Regions from separate parts of the Homo sapiens genome. Here regions 1, 2, 3, 4 and 5 are each linked to region 6. The links are contacts of gene promoters, found by promoter capture Hi-C in blood cells and fetal thymus (Javierre and others, 2016). All regions are on one chromosome and are shown on one strand. The core of a region is centred on a gene start or on the middle of the fragment in contact, and the rest is flanking DNA. Distances in the headings are between cores, read along the strand shown.

Region 1 (3,035 bases), core at 396-2,895, 220 kb after region 6:
GTATTTAGGGGATATGTTAGTCTGTTCTCACACTCCTATAAAGAAGTACCTGAGACCAGATAACTTATAAATGAAAGAAGTTTAATTGGCTCACGATTCTGTAGGCTGTACAGGAAACGTGGCTGAGAAGACCTCAGGAAACTTATAATCATGGTAAAAGGGGAAGCAGGCATGTCTTAAATGGCCAGAGCAGGAGGAAGAGAGAGAAGGGGGAGGTGCCACACACTTTTAAACCAGATCTCATGAGAACTCACTATCACAAGAACAGCAAGGGGGAAATCTGCCCCCATGACCTAATCACCTCCCACCAGGCCTTACCTCCAACACTGGGGATTACAATTCAACATAAGACTTGCATGGGGACAGAAATCTAAAACATATCAGAGGAGAAGGAGGTAAACACATGGGAAAAGAGAAAAGCAGCAAAGCCGTCATAGAAAAGGAAGGTAGGTGAATGCTGATATGTATTTGGGCAGGCTGACGACCTACTTAACACAACTGTACATGTTGAGCATGGCTTTGAAGGAGGAGTCAGATACAAGTTGGCAGCATGGTGTGGGTAATTCCAAGAGAGACAAATGATGAGTGCCCAGTGGCTTGCAACTGGAAAAGATCAAGGTTTGAGACAGCCTGGGAGATAAGAAATTGCCTGCTTGGCTGAGACCACCTGAGCCAGAACATCATGGAGCACAAGGCAGTTAGGTTAGGGTCAGTTGGTAGACCTTTTAAAAACACATGTAATTTAGCCCTGATGAGTTGAGCCAATTTATAAAGACTTAGTGCATTTGTGAAGTGACAACTGAAATAAATCAGACAACCATGGACAAAGCCAGTCTCAAAATTTGCCTAAATTGTAGTCCTCCCAGTTCTGAGTTCTGTTTTTATATGAGAATCAGCTTTCAGTTGATACCTCTGTGTGTTTTTAAAAATGTGGTTTTTTTTTCATGCTGTATATGAATGCAGACACTGGATCTCTTTTGTAATCTTAATAATAAACTGGTAAATTTTGCTTTATTAGGGTTTTGGTTTTATAAGACATTTCATAGTTTTATCTCAACTTGCCAAAGAATGAATTGATTATTGGTTTTTCATCTGCACTGGAAGCCCTCTGGTTCTAAGTATTATTAATATTAATTATTATCTTTACCTAGTCAGCCAGACTTGAAAGCATCTGTCTCCATTAGAAAGAGAGGCACAGAATCAATCTGCCATGTGAAACAAGAGGCTTTGTAAATAAAACTTTTACTATAGAGCATTTGAAATTTGATTTCTACATTTTTAAGTATTTAAAAGTGGTGTATATTTTTTAATTTTTAAGAAGTTTGCATGTATTGAAAGTCATGTGGTTAGCTGACTTCTCACAATATATTTGCATATTTTATTATTTTTACCCTTACCAAACTGACTCTTGTTGACTGGTGTTACTTTACCATTTACTAGTTGTGTTTGACTTTTGGGCAAATTAAGAGCTCTAATCTGGAGTGTTTCCTCATTTATAAACTTGAGGATAGCAATACCTACCTCTCAAAGTGATTAAGAAGATTACATAGTACAGGGTGTCAGCACCGCCCGCCACTCCCACCTGGGAACCAACTACTTTCACTAGTGCAGTAGCTCACACATAACGCAATCCATTTGTATTAATGTCAAAATAAATCAGCAAATTAGGGAATTAAGTAGGATTTGAAATTTGTTTTCTATGCTTGTTAAACCAGAATTTTAAGAAAGTAATCTCTCCAATATGATGATGTTTCATTTGCTTAGATTCTCTGAATTTTATATTGCTTTTCTTAAGGGGAGTTGAGAGCCCCTTTATTTTTCCAATTATTTAGGAATCCCCAGCAGGAGCAGCCATTATTTTACAGATGGTAAGAAAGGCAGGTGTGTGAAGTGGCTGGTTAAAGTGTATCATGATGCAACTCATAAAAATGAATATGGAAAAAGAGAGTTGTAAAAAGAAAAAATGTTATTTATAACTATTTTGAGACATTTACCTTTAAATCATTTTCTTAAGCCTCCTTCTTCAGATAAGTTAATCTACTCTTCCATAAGAATACTTGAGAATAAAATTGGGTAGCCTAAAGGAGTTATTATACATGATTTTCTACTAACTGGAAATAGCTATGGACAATCGCCTTTAATTTTGATTCCCCAGCTTTAATAGCAGACTTCCTATTGCAGAAGTTGTTTTAAAGGAGAAAAAATACTTTTAGCAGATTATATGTTTAAGAAAAGGAACTTTTAGTCTCTTTTAAAAATGCTGCATTTAGTTATTAAATAGTTGATTTATTTTTATGTTTGCATTTAGAATTCCTTTTCTGTTTTCCTCCACTGAACATACCAATTTTGTTTTCGAATGGCTAACCCATTTGGTATCTCTGGTTTAAAAATGAGAATAAAAATTTGATAATAATGGCTTTTGGGGTTTGACTGAGTTACAGCTGTTTTCTTATATTTTGCTTTGTGTGGGGGTGAATGAATGAGTGTGAGAGAATAAAAGGGCAGAGTTTAAAAGACTGCTCTCCTTGAAGGCAGAGGTTGTCTTAATCATGATGTTCAGAGCCCATGGATCAGGACCTAGAAGCCTCTGGGGTAAACATTTTAGCTACAGCTCTTGTAGTCTAACATCAGGTTATTGAAAAAGACTCCGAGAACCACTACCAATATTATGAACTAGCAGGATTGAAATGTGAATCTTGATATATTCTTTCTGAAAAATAACCTTTTTGTGATTGCTATGTGCAAAGCATAATGAAATGTGCTGTTGGAGGAAAGGAAGAGGTTAGTGGAAGTCTCAAAATGAAAAAGCAAGTTGCTGCGTAGAAACTTATGTCAGCTATGGAATAAAGTAAATGAATGGATAGAAGAGTAAGGGTGATAAACAGGTTACCTACATTTTAAAGAGTTATTTCATGATGAGGAACATGCTGTGTACGAGGGAAGGCCACCTATAGCTTAGGGTAAAAGCATTTGGAAGTAACAGTCATTTCCCCACCAATGTTCTCTCTTTTCTCTCATTTTGTCACTGATGTTTT
Region 2 (3,129 bases), core at 488-2,987, 160 kb after region 6:
CTTTTATTTACTCATTGTTATACCTCCTAAATCAAGAGACTGTTTTAAGCTTATCTTTGTCAACTCTGTGTGTTTGGAAGAAAGGAAACTCTAATGTTGTTTCTTCATTTCTCAAGTGGGCATCTCATTTCTGAGGTTATGTTTTTGCCCTTCCCTCTGTGTATAAAGTAAAGGGATATGACAGATAATTACTGAAAGTATCAATATTCATTAAACAGATCTGCTACTAGGCTTAGAGGATTACAAAGAGATATAAGACTAAATACCTGCTCCCAAAGAGATTAAAATTTGGCCAGGAATATAAGTTTTGCAATAAGAAAGGAAATCTGAGGAATGATGTCAGTGGCATAGGTTAAAAGGCTCAAAGAGATCAAAGAGAGATTTTGATTTGGAAAAGATTCAATTGAGGAGAGGTATTGAATAGGTTCATAGGAAGAGAGTAATTTAGCTGAATGGGCTGTATGTGTGTGTTGTATGTGGTGAGTAGAGGAAACTTGTCCATAATAGAGGGAACACATGAACTTGTGATTCATTTAGAAGTTAGTAATTAAACTAGTTTGTCTGGAGTGTTGGGATTGTGTACAAGTTGGATTTTGAGAAGGCTTTCAGGACTAGATTATAGAGGATTTGGAATGATCAGCAAGTGGTTTGGACATTAACAGTTTCAATTACAGTTTTATCATCCATTTTTGGTAAAAGAAAATGAAAGGCAGTAGTATAATTCTAATTTAACTCAACCTTAATGTAAAACAGTCTTTCAAAAGAGATTTATCAGCATCAGTAGGTAATTTGCTGTCCTCCAAATATTTGTAAGATTCCTCTTATTTTAATAACCTAGATGGCTAATTCTCTTCCTCCTTTTGGATTTCTTCACTCAGTAATAATGGTATTGTATTGTATTGAAATAACTCATCTCTTTGATTCCTCTATTTGTTCCTCTAGAGGGCAGGGCTATGTCTCATTCACTGTCATATTCCTAGTGCTTATTGTGTGGTATGTGATTACTGCAGGATGGTTAAGTGAACTCAGTTCTGGGTTCCAGTCACTTCATTTTGTAAGATTTTCTTTTTTCTTTTTCTTTCCTTTTCTTTTCTTTTTCTTTTTTTTTTTTTTTTGAGATGGAGTCTCGCTCTGTCATCAGGCTGGAGTACGGTGGTGCGATCTTGGCTCACTGCAACCTTCGCCTCCCGGGTTCAAGCAACTCTCCCGCCTCAGCCTCCTGAGTAGCTGGAACCGCAGGTGCGCGCCACCACGCCCAGCTAATTTTTGTATTTTTAGTAGAGACAGGGTTTCACCATGTTGACCAGGATGGTCTTGATCTCTTGACCTCGTGATCCACCCGCCTCGGCCTCCCAAAGTGTTGGGATTATAGGTGTGATCCACCACGCCCGGCAAGATTTTCTTTATACTTTCAGTGAATCTCTGTAGTTTTTATAGTTGTTGCATTTTTTAAGATGATAGAGGATCATGATCATGACATTCCTTAACTATTTTCAAATCGATGAAGGATTCCAAAATTGAACATTCTAGCTATTTTGAATCAGAACATCAGTTAAGACATTTGACAAACTTCTTTTTATAATTTTGTCCCCATAGTAGCATGAATAGAAATAAATTCACCTTTTCATTTAATGTGATCAGACTCTACTGGGAAAGACAGAGAGGACAGATTAGAGCTTAGTTAAAGTTGCTTTTTCCTATTTTTTTCATATGAATGTAGTTTAGGAAATAATGTGGGTCCAACTTATTTAGTATAAGGTAATGATAAATATCCATTTTATTTGGATTTGATCTCGACTGAAGATTCTAGAATTATATCTTGGAAAACTCAGTTTTAGGAATTTCTTTTATTAGGAGCTATTTTTTGATATCTTGGAATACTCAGTTTAAGAAATTTATTAGGAGCTATTTTTTTTTTGAGACAAGAATCTTGCTCTGTTGCCCATGCTGGAGTGCAGTGGCACGATCATAGCTCACTACAGCCTCAAACTCCCAGGCTTAAGTAATCCTCCTGCCTCAGCCCTCCCAAGTAGCTGGAACTACAGGCATGTACCACCATGCTCAGCTAATTTTTAAACTTTTTTCATAGAGATAGGGTTTTGCCCAGGTTGGGGGTTGGGTGTCTTAAACTCCTGACTTCATGCAGTCCTTCCGCCTTGACCTCCCAAAGTGCTGGGATTACAGATGTTAGCTACCAGGCCTAGCCAGGAGCCATAAAAAAATCAGCTTCCTGTTGTAGCAGCAGTTTACTTCCCTTTCCTGTATTGATGACACTATTTTGATTTATGCATTGGAAAAAGCATATGATGTAATTTGCTTTCAATATCTATTATCCCCATTTTCCTTAGTGACAGAAACCTGGGCAACATGCCTAGTTAAAGCACCCTTTCCCAGGCTTCTTTATAGCTTGTGGTCATTGACTAAATTCTGGCAAATGAAATGTAAACAGATGCTTCAGATGGGATTTTCAAGAAGGCTCTTTAAAAGAGGGAGAGCACACATTCTCTACTTTCTCTTTAGTTAATTTTGTCTTGCTGACTGTCACATGAATATAATGGCTGGAACATTAGCAGCCACCTTGGATGCTGAGGTGACCTGGAGGATGGAAGCCAAGAGAGATAAAGCAGGAAGACAGAAGGAGCCTCATGACTTCATGGAGCCTTTAAACAAGCTCTGGACTGCTTGTTTCTTGCTTGAACAAACTGGCTCTGAACTGCCTGGCTTATTCCAGTGACTGCCCTGGTATAATAGAGTTGGGGCAAATTTTCTCAACTGTCAACAATAACTTACTAATTACTTTCATAATCAGAAAAGTCATGTGTGTGTGTGTTTTGAAAGTAGAAGACTGTAAATTCTTCTGGTAGACCACATCTATGATGGTAATATCACTAGAAACAAAGAAATCTGGAGGTGAGAACCAATTTTACTGGAAAGAGAACAATGTTGTATACTAGATGAGACCTCAGCCTTGGGAGCAAGGTGTCTTGGAATGTTTGACCCAGTGGAATGTTTGACTGGCCAGCTATTCAGTAACACAGTTATTAAATAACATGGATATGCTTGTTCCTTCAACTGTAAAATAAATCATCAACATTCACCTGATACATCAATCACCTGATATGGTCACCC
Region 3 (2,988 bases), core at 6-2,505, 140 kb after region 6:
ACCTTGGCCTCCCGAAGTGCTGGGATTACAGGTGTGAGCCACCACGCCCGGCCAGATATTGACCACTTTAAATGTGGCTATTTCAAATTGAAGTGTGCTATATGTGTAAAATACACATTGGATTTAGATTATTTAGTACAATAAAAGAATGTAGTTTCTCATTAATATTTTTATATTGTTACTGTTCAAATGGTATCAAGTTAAAATATATTATTAAAATTAATTTTACCTGTTTTTAAAATCATTTTAATGTGACTACTAGAAAACTTAAAATTACACATGTGACTTGCATTTATAGCTTATATTTCTATTCAGAAGTATATAATATATAGCTGGTACAGATGTTATGCTGAATATTTAAAACATATAGACCCTGTCTTTTGTTTCTGTCATCTTTCTTCCCCTCCTATAAATATACCTTTAATATTGTTAGAAAGTAAAGAAATATGAAAAGCTTATTCAATGATCAACTCCCTAGTGACCCACCAACACATTTCTCATTATAGGTGGTTGTTATGTGCTTCTGTGAAAGCTCCCAAGACACCAAGTTGGTAAAAGCTGGATAAACAAGGCTGTATTTTTTATACAACAATGTTAAGCCAGTTGGCAATTTTGTGAACTCACTGAAACGGAAAAATTGTACTGAGTATTTGTATTAAAAAGAGTTATAAATATCTGCAATTATTACTCAAGTATGAATTATTTTAAAGTTTGTTACTATCAATAAGAACCGAATATTACCAGAGCATTCAGTAGTATTAGGAGTTTTAAAAAGCTGGATGCTATTTTCAGGTATACAGACATGGATTCAGTCTAGGAAAGGTTCTCTCCTTTATTACTTTGTTTAATGCAGCATGAAGTCAATTGTTCATTTGCAAACATGTTTTGTGGTGGTGTATTTTCTTTTTCTTTTCTTTTTTTTTTTTTTTTTTTGAGATGGAGTCTCGCTCTGTCGCCATGCATCTTGGCTCACTGCAACCTCCACTTCCCGTGTTCAAGCGATTCTCCTGCCTCAGCCTCCCGAGTAGCTGGGACTACAGGCACGTGCCACCATGCCCAGCTAATTTTTTTGTATTTTTAGTGGAGACGGGGTTTCACCATGTTGGCCAGGATGGTCTCGATCTCTTGACCTCATGACCCGCCCGCCTTGGCCTCCCAAAGTGCTGGGATTACAGGTGTGAGCCACTGCACCTGGTCGGTATATTTTCTTTTTAAAAATTTATCTAATCCAGGACAGTGCTGACATTTTTTTATTTTCCAAAGCCTTTATTTTAAAAGTAACATTTTACTCATATAAACTTGGACAATGTAAAATTATGTATATAGTGGTTCCTCTGTATCTGTGGGCTGCACATCTGTGGATTCAACCAACCTCAGATTGAAACTATTTGAAAAAAAAAATGGCATCTGTCCTGAACATGTAAGGATTTTTTTCTTGTCATTATTCCCTAAACAGTGCAGGTATTGTCTTAACATAGAATTTTCACTGGCTTTATGTTTTTAAACTATAATAGTACCTGTCTGTGAATTGTGCAGATTGTGCTATAATATCCCTAGAGAAATGGTAAAGACAGCAGCAGAACAAGGCTCTTCTCTGTTCTACTCAAAGGGTCATCTCTTCTGCCAGCTCTAAAAAACAATAGAAATTCTTAGAGAAACTCACATTTTAAAAGTTTTTAGTGATCCTTCAGTAGAAATGCATAGAAATGTATCAGAATTCATTGTTTTTTTCTGAAATGCTAGAGGATGCTTAGTCTTCCCCTATGTAGCCTATAATTTTAGTTCTGTGTTAATATGAACACTGATGAAAGACATAGGTAGTACTTCTGATAGTACATTTTCACTTCCTACGTTGGAGATTTATTTGACTCCATTTATATCTGTTAAATCAGTTTAGCTCTACTTGAATCCCAGTTTCAAAGATTTCCAACTGGAAAGCTGACAAAACTATTGGTGTGGGTGGAGAGTATTAAGAATTTTGCTTTTAGTTTTTCTCCCATTGGAATACAATGTATTTGTTTCTAAGAATTATAATCAGTTGTAGACTGAAGCTTTGTAGGAAATATTAAATGTAAATTCCACTGTAAAGTTTGACAATAGCCACAGGCACAGATTTTATTTCTGAAACTGGGAAAAGAGACCTCTAGAGAAATAGAATGGTTTGAACTTGGACTTTTTTTCTTTCTTTCTTTCTTTCGTAATGAGTTTACCTGGAAAGACCTTCAAAGGTAGTGTTTATAAAAAGAATTTTATATACAGATTTTAAAGGATGTTCTTTAAAGCTTTTTTAGGTTTACTGGAGAAAAACAGAAGAGCTAATAAATTCATACAAATAACCCTCGTTGTACTGTGGAGGGTGTTAATAGCTTTCTTTAAAGATGAACTTGTAAAATGCTTTGTGAGCATTCTAAATACTTATTAGCCTGCTTGACAACCAGTGGTTACCTTGGGCCTTTTTATTGCTAGAGGTGAGAAAGCCAGAGAAAGGATTTGGAAACACCAGTCTTCTTCTGCTTCCTTTTGGTGCAGATCTTTATTCCTGCTTTTCTGTACTGTTGGGTTAGCCTCTTACTTGATTTTATTTTTGAAATAGCCATTATTTCACTACCTTTCCTAATCCCAAAACACTGGGGTACTCCACTGACTATATTAAATTTATGTACCTCTGGCATTCAAAACTCTTCAATGATCTGGCCTCAAACTGTTTTTCAAGTATTTTCTCTTACTCTCTATTCCCAAGGCAAACTGTCTCTTTTCAGTTGTTGTGATAAATCCTGTAATTTGTTTCTTAGTGTCCTTCTTCCTAATGTTCTGTCTGTGTAAAACACCTTTGTGGTTCATTCCCTGTTTCTATTATGTATATTGAAATCTTTTCCATAGATTGAATCTCTACTTCCTCTTCCAAGCCACTGTGGGATCTCCCAGGTTGAGCTAAATGTGCTCTTTGCCCTTTAAACTTTGTACGGTTTTTGTAGTAATTATCAAAAT
Region 4 (3,148 bases), core at 239-2,738, 210 kb after region 6:
TTAATATGTGCTTATCCACTGATTAGCATAAATTAAGTGCTTTAATGGAGGTATTATAACAAGTGCACTGTAGGACCATAAAGGGAGGTACAACTGACTGCCCATTGGGCCAGGGGAAGGGATCTGTTATGAAGTGAGTGGTTTTTGAGTTGAGAACAGGAGTGTTCCATGTAGAGAAGGTAGGATTGGCCAACATCTATCTTGTAGGAAAGAAGACCACAACAGCAGGAGAGAGGATGAAATATTTTGGGAATGATAGGAATTCTGTTTTGGCTGGAAGAGGGTGGGGCAAAGGGTGAGCTTGGAAAAATAGGTTGGAACCAGATTGTGAAATGCATGTAGTGATAAGAGGAATTTGAAAGGCTTTCGTTTGAGTGTGGCACAATCAGAGTTTTATAAAAATAATTCTGGTGACAGCATGAAGGGGAGGAAATTGATGGGAGGGTAAGTAATGGGTTGTCCATTCTTCTGCCTTCCAGCTTTCTCCTGTGCTTCTGGAGAGTATCTAGAAATGAAGAACCAGGTATGCAGTAAGTGTGGTGAAGGCACCTATTCCTTGGGCAGTGGCATCAAATTTGATGAATGGGATGAATTGCCGGCAGGATTTTCTAACATCGCAACATTCATGGACACTGTGGTGGGCCCTTCTGACAGCAGGCCAGACGGCTGTAACAAGTAAGAATCCAAAGCAGCCTTTGGCTCTTAACTGAATATTTGAGAAGAAAGTAGTTGCTCTTTTCCAGAAAGAAGATGAGGATAATCTTGGTACTGTTTGTGGTGATAGATAAGCTAATTGCAAAGAATCATGTTTTTTGGACGGTCATTGCAATGAGTTTTCATGAGGTTAAAATCATTGCCCTCAGGATATAATAGACACTGTATGCAAAAATGCAATAAAGCTGTTAGAGAAGCAAATTAATTTTCTCATATTTATAACTACATTTAAGCCACTGGTGTTTCTACTAACCTTTTTCTGATTTTTAACAGATACTTTCAGGTTTTTTTATTTTCCTCTGACAGGAAGAATTCATAACCTTCATTTAGACACTTGATTATCTCCTATAAAAGAGAGTGGGTTAAGTACCTAAGGTGGAAAGCGCCTTTGCTTAATTCCTACCTCTTTTATAGGGGATTATTAGCTTTGCATATGACAAAGCTGGAGAAATGTTAAACTGTTTTGAAAAAAACAAAACAAAATGTTTGTCTTTGAGCTATATCCCTTCCTGTTCCCTTGTATTAATTATGTAACATTTCCTTTCATATGGATTTGCTTAGGAGAATTCAACTTTAGGGCTCTGGCTACCCCCTGACAAGAGTAGCCTCTCAGGAACCCCACATTTTTACCATAAGCTAAGGATGCTGGGGAATTATTTAGCTGTGTTGAAAGGCATATTCATTCCCTCCCTCCCTTCCTTTCTTCCTTCCTTTCACTCTAGCTGTCTTTTTGCCAAATGATGCCAATTTCTTTATTTTAATCTCTCGATAATAGGATTATTTCCTTGAGAGAGTGTGTGTTTTAAGTAAAAGAGTTCCTTAGAGGAAGGTACTAGTAGGATGTTGTGGGACCTCAGATCTTTGTTTTGGTGGGCAGGAGATACTGACAAGGCTTCTTTTTCTGCCTGGAATAGTTTATGCATAAAAGAAATCGAGTAAGCGGAAGTTTTTCAATGTAGTGTTTTCTAGTGTAATTTTCTCAGTGTAAATTTGAGTCTGGGCCAGTGCGGCGGTGGCTCATGCCTGTAATCCCAGCACTTTGGGAGGTCGAGGCAGGCGGATCACCTGAGGTTGGGAGTTCAAGACCAGCCTGACCAACATGGAGAAACCCCATCTCTACTAAAAATACAAAAATTAGCCTGGCGTGGTGGCAGGTGCCCGTAATCCCAGGTACTCTGGAGGCTGAGGCAGGAGGATCACTTGAACCCTGGAGGCAGAGGTTGCGGTGAGCTGAGATCGCACCATTGCACTCCAGTCTGGGCAACAAGAGCAAAACTCCGTCCACTTTTGCATACTTTTTATTTCTCTTTAATTAGTTGTGTCATATAGGAGATGTATGTTGAACTTTCTAAAAAGTCTGAGCTTTTCAAAATGGTTATATCATTGTAGACTCCCACCAGTAGTATATTTTAGTTCTAGTTATTCTACATGTTTACCAACATTTGTATTGTTAAGTCTTGTTTTGTTCTAGCCCTAGGCTTTCCAGTGTATGCACACGTGTGTGTGTGTGTGTGTGTGTGTGTGTGTGAGAAATGGTATCCCTTTGTTTTAATTTGCATTTCCCTGCTGGATAATAATGTCAAACATGTTTCATGTGTTTATTGTTCATGTGTTTATTAACTTTTGTGAAGTCAAATTGTTTTGCCCATTCTCTACTTTTTTTTGGTCATTTGATTATTAAGCTGAAGGAGTTCCTGTACATTCTGGGCATGGGTTCTTATGTGTATATATTTATATAATAAATATATAGTATGTGCACATACACATACACACGTCTCCATGTGTGTGTAACACTTCTTCCCAATTTGTGGTTTTTGCCTTTTTTGTTTTCTTAATAGTGTCCTTTGATAAGCAGAAGTTTAAAATTTGAAAGAATACAATTTATTATTTTTTTCTGCTGTGGTCATATGTTAGGATATCTTTGCTAACCCCAGGTTGCAAAGGCTAGAAATTACTGTATGCATCCTTATGGTAACATAGAGTTATTATTGTACCTTTATATAATGTTAAATTTTACAACAGCATAGTTACATCTATACCCTTATCTTCATACTATTGCCATATATTTAGAAACATGTTATAAACCCTACAATACAATGGTATTATGTTTTAAATAATTAGTTGCTTTTAAAATAACCTTACAAAGATTTAGGAACTCAAAGCCAAGTCCATCACTGACAAGTTCATTTCACATGACACACAGCTTCCTAAAAAATTAAGGTGAAAAAATATAGCTTTATATGTTAATCTACGTATTTATCATTAATGGTGCTCTTTCTCCCCTTCCATAGATTTGCCATGTGTATGGGTTTACAAATAAAACTGCAGATATCTGAAAGAATAATTCCATCTAAGGCTACTAAAATTAGTTATCATCTATTTGGTAATCAAATTTTGGGTGAAAAATAACAATTTCTTAGCAGATTAATCATAT
Region 5 (3,099 bases), core at 358-2,857, 240 kb after region 6:
GCCGTGCCTGTGCCCTCGGTTCTGAACAGTCGGGTTCATCGTGTGTCCCCTGCCCTCCAGGCCACTACATTGAGAAAGAAACCAACCAGTGCAAGGAATGTCCACCTGACACCTACCTGTCCATACATCAGGTCTATGGCAAAGAGGCTTGTATTCCATGCGGGCCTGGGAGTAAAAACAATCAGGTAAGTGGGTCTGCATTTCAGGTATCCCCATGAAAGCACATTTTAATAGAGAAATTCAAGCGTTCTCCTTAATGTTTCTCTGGGAGCTATGAGGTTGCTATTTATTCTGAAATAAGACTTTCTACTTACCATTTCTGTTTTCTCCCTTCTTGCGTTTATTAAACACTTACTGTATGCTATGAAAGTACTAGTTACTGGTGACATAAAATATTAAAAGCTCCCAAATAAGAATGCTTTTCCAAAATATTAAAACTGATTTCTTGTGTATTGTTTAGGTACAGCAAATAAACTACCTATCTATAGGCTGGCTATAGCAGTCATCTGGGAACAGCTAGTGTTTCTTATAATTTTGAATGGCAAAGATTGATGCCATATTATGAGTGAAGGACAAAGCACTTTTACTGTCTGTTTAAATTTACGTAACAGAATTTTGGCTATTTCTTAAAATACCTTTCTACAAGGAACAAACTTGAGGATAACTTTACTCTGTCTTTAAAAGATTCTGAATTTTCTGAACTTTGTTTAGAAAAATCTAGTTAGAGTTTAGAAATTCTTTATATTAGTATGGTAAAGTATATTATAGCTAAGACTAAATTACTGGAATAGTTTTTATACCTAGAACTTTTTTCAAACACATTTTAGTAGCAGCTAATATTTTCTTTCCTGCTATATTGTTTCTTTATCTTTAATCAAAGGACCATTCGGTTTGCTATAGTGACTGCTTTTTCTACCATGAAAAAGAAAATCAGAGTTTGCACTATGACTTTAGCAACCTCAGCAGTGTGGGCTCATTAATGAATGGCCCCAGCTTCACCTCCAAAGGAACAAAATACTTCCATTTCTTCAATATCAGTTTATGTGGGCATGAGGTGAGTTCTGGCTGTCAAGGTGAGATGGACCTATATTTCAGCTCCGATCAAGTTGATATTTTCTGTGTTAATGGACCAATAAATTCTCTATGGATATCAACCAAGTGTCAGAAACTGAGGTTTGATTGCTTAGATCCTCTATTGCTGCCTAGAATATTGGCAGATTTCTCCACCAGGGGCAACCTTGTCTGGTTCTCAGTGTATCAAATCACTTATGCAGTCAGTTGAAACCTGAAGCTTGGAGCTATGGTGTAAGTGCTTTGAGGATGTTTTGTTTTCATAAAAATGGGTCAGGGTTGTCAATCTTACCTCTTTAGGCAGGAAGTTATTTGAGAAAGTTTTACTGTTGTTTATGTTGTCAATTTTGTGTTTTAAGAAGAAAAAGACTTTCAAGAGGAAGCTTGTCCAAAATAAAAAGGAGACATGCAGGGCCAAATATCAGTTGATAAGGTAGGCTTAAATCATACAAATGGGATTTTATTTGCTGTGAGAAGAAGAGGAATCTTAATTGATACTGGCAATGGGGAGAGGTTACAGGACCATGATGCCCAATATTTTAATGGACATATGAGGTTAGGGTTGGGAAGTATGTATAGGTATATACCTACAGAGTAGGAACAGGATAAGGCATTTCCTCCATGTCACTTCCCATATTAACTCCTATATTTTCAATTGTCTTCATTATGAGATACTGTGCAAAGCTTTGAACAAAGGAAACAAAAAGAGATCTGATGACCACAGAAGTTTTCAAACAAAAAGATCCATAAAATTTTACATAGTATGACAGCTGTCCTGTTTTGATTTTACCTGGGGTGATCCAAGACACTCACTAGATTGGTTACTCAGTTCACTCAATAAATATAAATTAAATACCTGTTATGTGCCAGATACTGTGGGAAGCAGTGAATAAGATTAATTCCATTGTCTACCATACTTCTATCACAATCTTATTGTACATTAGCACTACCTCTTTTTCCACCTTCTCTTCTCTTCACCTCTAGCTTCTATCTCTTTCCTTCCTTTTTATTCTTGTTTCTTTCCTTTTAGCTTCCACTATTTTCCTTTTTCTTTCCCCAGTACCTTTTCTCTGATCTTTTCCATTATTTTTTATTGGCTTCAACATTTTAATTTAAGCCTAGTAAAAAAAATATACTGGTGAGAAGGCCTATTGTCAGAAGGCCTGGTAGCAGGAGAAAAATTTATAGGTTAGGTCTGCTAGCTGCATTAAGAAAGATAAACTTTTATACTTTTCTTTTTACACATCTGTGTACACTCTATATCTAACACCAATGAAATAGTTTTCCTGTATTATTTTTACATTTACTTTGTAGAAATTATGGAGCAAGCTATAGTCTTTTGCAGTAGGACTACAGTAAATTTAAACATATTATATTTAAACAATTTTTCCATTTTTTATAAGTTATATCTTCCAATTATTTTCAAAATTATTAAAAAAGCTAATCTCTCTATTACCTTTAACTTGTTATACAGTTGAACAGATACACATCATTGAAACTAAGAGTAGGTTAATAAAGACACTTGTAGTGACCAATTATTTAGAATTCAGGTGTTATTCTAGAATTTTGCTGCAGTATGACTTTTGTGCTTTCTTCTTTAGCCTTCACATTACCTTTCTGCTACACATAGGGTCATAAAGGAAAAGGAAGACCAACACTTTTTCTTTGACACTGAAGCTTTCATCAGCAGTTTTCTGGTCTTTTTGCATGCATTGTTACTCTATGAATTGAACATTTCATAGATTACTTTTATTTTCTCAAGTTTGATGACTTTCATTTATCACAAATGATGCTTGTACTGGGAAGAGCAGTATAGTCTTGAATTACTGTATTTGTTATAACTGTAGACTCTGAAGTTTGGTTGAATATTGGACTTTCCTTGAGAGCTTTTAAAAAGTACTGATGGGTGGCTAGGCCTCATACCAGATCAACTAAATCAGAATCCTTGCAGTGAGGAGAGAGCCACTGCTCTTCTAGGGTCACTAGCTAGTCAAGATTAAGTTTAGAGATTGACATCCAATAAAACCT
Region 6 (3,282 bases), core at 614-3,113:
TAAAAATCACCACAATCATGAAATGTATTTTTCACACCTGTAACATAATGGTTTTTTCCAGATACAATCAGGCTGGTTTTTGTGCTTTCTGTATGGAAGAAAAAAATTATTCTCACACCAAATTGGATTCTCTCAGCATGACAATTTTTGTAACGTTAAGGAATGTAGCTTTAACCTTTTTTCTCTAAATCTTAACAGAATTTCTAAATCCTAACCAAATACATGAAATCCTGTCTCTAAGTACACCATAAGAGCAAAAAGATAAGATTTTGGTGTATCGCCATAGTCATTCTTTAAATGTTAAAGTGATGGCAAATTATTCAAGTTATTAAAAGACAGTAATCCTCAGAAAGCTATTTGAAATATAATTTCAAAACCAGCTTAAAGAAATTTGAAGTAATGAAAAAACATGAAAACCCTTAACTGAAAAAAACAGATTTTGCAATACTTTCAACATAGTGGAAGAATATTTTCGTATTTGGAGCTTAAAAGCTACAAATGGTTTTCTCCCACGAATTAAAAATACAGGTATAATTTAAAATTTTCCAAATGGCGTCACTTTAAGCTTAAGACATGTCATATTAAAAAATAATTCCACAGAATATGCATTTTGTAGGACGTCCCAACATGCAGCCTCGACTGTCAGAAAGGAGGCACACATAATCAAATCCATGTACATTAAAAAGAGGTACACAAAGATGAATGAGTTGCGAAAAAAGCAACTACACAAATTCAATGAGAGAAAGGGAGGAGTCCTGACTCATACTGTATACTATTATCCTTTTCCTTATCTACACCGAGTATTTTATATAAAGACATATGCTCTATCATTCAATTGCACAAAAGGGCACTTGGCCACTTCTACTCTCAAATCTGCTCTGGAGATTGTGGTAAAACATTCTACATACCTCCCTGAAGAAATTCTCAAAGCGAAGTACATTTTAGAGAACAAAGTGGACTTAACAATTTTAAGAACTTTCTCGGAACTCGGCACAATAGGGTAATTACAACTTTACAGCCGCATTTTCCGTGCTCCACCAGGACTGTCCCCGCGCCCCAGCCCACATCCCTTCTTTAAAGAGAGTCAGACTGAGAGAGACGGTTCGGCCAGCTATCCCGATTCTCTATGTCTGGGCCGTGAATCGCCGAGCAAGGCTGAACCCCCGCAAAATTACAGAAGAATCTAAAGCGCAAACGAGGGAAAAGAACAAAAAAGCAAAGGGGGGGAAGTTGGGTCGAGACCCACCCCCACTCTCTCGACCCCACCCAAGCCTACCTCTCCTACGCTGGACCATAAAACAAAACCGAAAACGTAACAAAAATAAAAACTAAAAATAGAACACCACGAGAAAACAAGTAGGGCTTCCTTACTGTCTCCACTCCTTCTGGCCCAGTTCTCTACTCAACCTCCCGGCCCACCCCACCCCCCAGGGGTCCCGGCGCCATTTAGCTCCTCCGAAGCCGCCGCCATTTTCCGCCCCCGCCGGATCGCCGCTGTGCCTCGGCAGCCGCTCGCTTCCCTACTCTGCAGCCTGAGCCACGGGCACCGCCCGGCCCTAAGAGGGAGGCCCTGGCCGGAACGTGCGGGGACGGCAGCTGCAACGTCAGGAAGGCCAGGCTCCGACCCCGCCCGCAGTGCCCCGGCGCCGACAGCTTGCGCCAGCCGGCGGGAGCTAGCGGGCAGCAAGGGGGCCGGACAGGCTCCACTGGGCGGAGCGGCCCTGGCGGCGGTTGGAACCTGAAGGTTCCATCGCACTTACTTCCTGTTTTGGGTCCGGGCACTTTGGAAGAACCAGGATGGAAGCTCCAAAAAATACCAGGATGGAGGAAGCAGCCACGGGCGAGAGTGGCTGCAGCTGGAGTGAGCGAGCGCGACGAGCCACCGGAAACGGAGCTGCGGCCGCGCCCCGCCCCCAGCTCCCCGCACGCTGCCCCTCCCGCTCGTCTGTCCCGCTGGCGGCCCAGCGTGCTGGCTGTACGCGTCACTTCCGGCTGTGTCGGCGCGCGAAAAAAGGTCCTGGGTTGGAATGTTTGTACTGGTCTGTGGCGGTGGTTGTCGGCTGTCCTGCCAGGAAAACTCGGCACTGACTATCCCACTGCTGATGCTGTAAAAGAGGTCCTTCTGCTATGACGCAACTGTGGTTCCTCTGGTTCTGGGGACACTTAGGCCTCGCGTGCCGATTTTCATAGTTCCCTGTGGCTCCGAGCCGAGGGAGCCGCGGTGTGGAACGGAGGGAACCAGTGATCTCAGTGCTGAAGAAAACAGGGAGTGTGTGTCTTCATACTTGATTTGCCTTACCGCAGGGGCATAATATGAGATATCTGGGCGTGTTAAGTCGTTCTTGATGAAATGTGTCCTCTGTGAATGTAGTCTCACTGTTAGACTAGGAAGATGCTGTTTTGCTGTGCCCAGTTCCTCTTAAAAGTACAGATGCTCCTTGGGTTGCAGCCGTATAAACCCATCCTAAATAGAAAACGCGTTTTAATACCCTTATAAACGAAAAGGATAAATAAGCCTTTGGGTTCTGTAATGTGAGCCAGCATTCTTTGAGTGCGTATGTGACAGGTAAATGTTTTACGTATATTAAACTCATTTAATGTTCATAAGTTCTAAGTGCATCGCTACAATTATTACAAATGAATCCCATTTTACACAGGAACCAAAGAGAAGTGAAGGAATGTGTCCAAGGGCTCCCAAGTTGGCGGTGGAATTAGAATTGAAGCCTCAGCTCCAAAGCCTGTGTTCTGAACTACCCGGTTGCAGTTCACAAAATACACTTTGGCAGTACTTTCATAACGAAAACAAATGATTACAACCAGTTTACAAATGCTTTGCTTTACTGGAGGATCGACATGTTTGACTAATTTTCAAAAATAAATCTCAGAAGCAGCATTTTCTTGTGTTGATAACTTTATTACTAATTTGTGGCACTCTGCATTCTGTTGGAGTTAAGCCGTGTATCATTCCATTTTTTAATAAGTACATAATAATGTTTATGTAAGCAAAACTATGAGGCAGAATAGTATCGTGGTATGGACTCAGGCAGTCAGACCTGAGTGTGAATCTTGGCTCCATTTCTTAGTAGTGGATATGGCACTTCACCTCTTTTAGCTTTGTTTACTTTAGGAGTAATAAGATGTACCTTCCAGAATATTGTAGACAGCGTAGTTTGCATGGAATCTGACGTGTATTAAGCATTAAAAATGGTAACTAATAAACCTTAAAGCCAGGAAAGCAATACAACTACTCAAAGAGCAGTTCTAATAAAATAATAATTACAT

The links. The method cuts DNA at HindIII sites, captures the fragments that hold promoters and counts their contacts. A CHiCAGO score of 5 or more calls a contact.
Region 1: a contact is called between a fragment that was not itself captured here and the fragment with the promoter of DMTF1 in region 6, in 16 of 17 cell types (megakaryocytes, total CD4 T cells, naive CD8 T cells and 13 more). The highest score is 18.7, in megakaryocytes.
Region 2: a contact is called between a fragment that was not itself captured here and the fragment with the promoter of DMTF1 in region 6, in 5 of 17 cell types (non-activated CD4 T cells, naive CD8 T cells, total CD4 T cells and 2 more). The highest score is 9.4, in non-activated CD4 T cells.
Region 3: a contact is called between a fragment that was not itself captured here and the fragment with the promoter of DMTF1 in region 6, in 2 of 17 cell types (naive CD4 T cells and total CD4 T cells). The highest score is 6.5, in naive CD4 T cells.
Region 4: a fragment that was not itself captured here is called in contact with the fragment with the promoter of DMTF1 in region 6 in 15 of 17 cell types (naive CD4 T cells, total CD4 T cells, total B cells and 12 more); the score reaches 18.5 in naive CD4 T cells.
Region 5: a contact is called between a fragment that was not itself captured here and the fragment with the promoter of DMTF1 in region 6, in 14 of 17 cell types (naive CD8 T cells, total CD4 T cells, naive CD4 T cells and 11 more). The highest score is 11.9, in naive CD8 T cells.

Annotation. Positions count from the first base shown.
Region 1 is chr7:86,927,042-86,930,076 of GRCh38, reverse strand. All of the region lies in intron 8 of ELAPOR2 (endosome-lysosome associated apoptosis and autophagy regulator family member 2), which reads left to right. Among named protein-coding and RNA genes, the nearest start is that of GRM3-AS1, 130 kb to the right of the region's middle. The HindIII fragment of the contact is 7,378 bases long and covers 1-3,035 here.
Region 2 is chr7:86,991,221-86,994,349 of GRCh38, reverse strand. All of the region lies in intron 1 of ELAPOR2 (endosome-lysosome associated apoptosis and autophagy regulator family member 2), which reads left to right. Among named protein-coding and RNA genes, the nearest start is that of ELAPOR2, 67 kb to the left of the region's middle. The HindIII fragment of the contact is 3,371 bases long and covers 52-3,129 here.
Region 3 is chr7:87,009,195-87,012,182 of GRCh38, reverse strand. All of the region lies in intron 1 of ELAPOR2 (endosome-lysosome associated apoptosis and autophagy regulator family member 2), which reads left to right. Among named protein-coding and RNA genes, the nearest start is that of ELAPOR2, 49 kb to the left of the region's middle. The HindIII fragment of the contact is 1,597 bases long and covers 457-2,053 here.
Region 4 is chr7:86,945,254-86,948,401 of GRCh38, reverse strand. It overlaps ELAPOR2 (endosome-lysosome associated apoptosis and autophagy regulator family member 2), which reads left to right. Exons shown (of 22, transcript NM_001142749.3): 3 at 480-675. Among named protein-coding and RNA genes, the nearest start is that of ELAPOR2, 110 kb to the left of the region's middle. The HindIII fragment of the contact is 3,492 bases long and covers 1-3,148 here.
Region 5 is chr7:86,910,027-86,913,125 of GRCh38, reverse strand. It overlaps ELAPOR2 (endosome-lysosome associated apoptosis and autophagy regulator family member 2), which reads left to right. Exons shown (of 22, transcript NM_001142749.3): 14 at 1-185; 15 at 881-1,054. Among named protein-coding and RNA genes, the nearest start is that of GRM3-AS1, 110 kb to the right of the region's middle. The HindIII fragment of the contact is 301 bases long and covers 1,457-1,757 here.
Region 6 is chr7:87,151,034-87,154,315 of GRCh38, reverse strand. It overlaps DMTF1 (cyclin D binding myb like transcription factor 1), which reads right to left and starts at 1,863. Exons shown (of 18, transcript NM_001142327.2): 1 at 1,761-1,863. It overlaps DMTF1-AS1 (DMTF1 antisense RNA 1), which reads left to right and starts at 1,823. Exons shown (of 2, transcript NR_136253.1): 1 at 1,823-2,014; 2 at 2,658-2,893. RefSeq lists enhancers at 1,668-2,229, 2,075-2,314, 2,230-2,793. The HindIII fragment of the contact is 3,514 bases long and covers 568-3,282 here.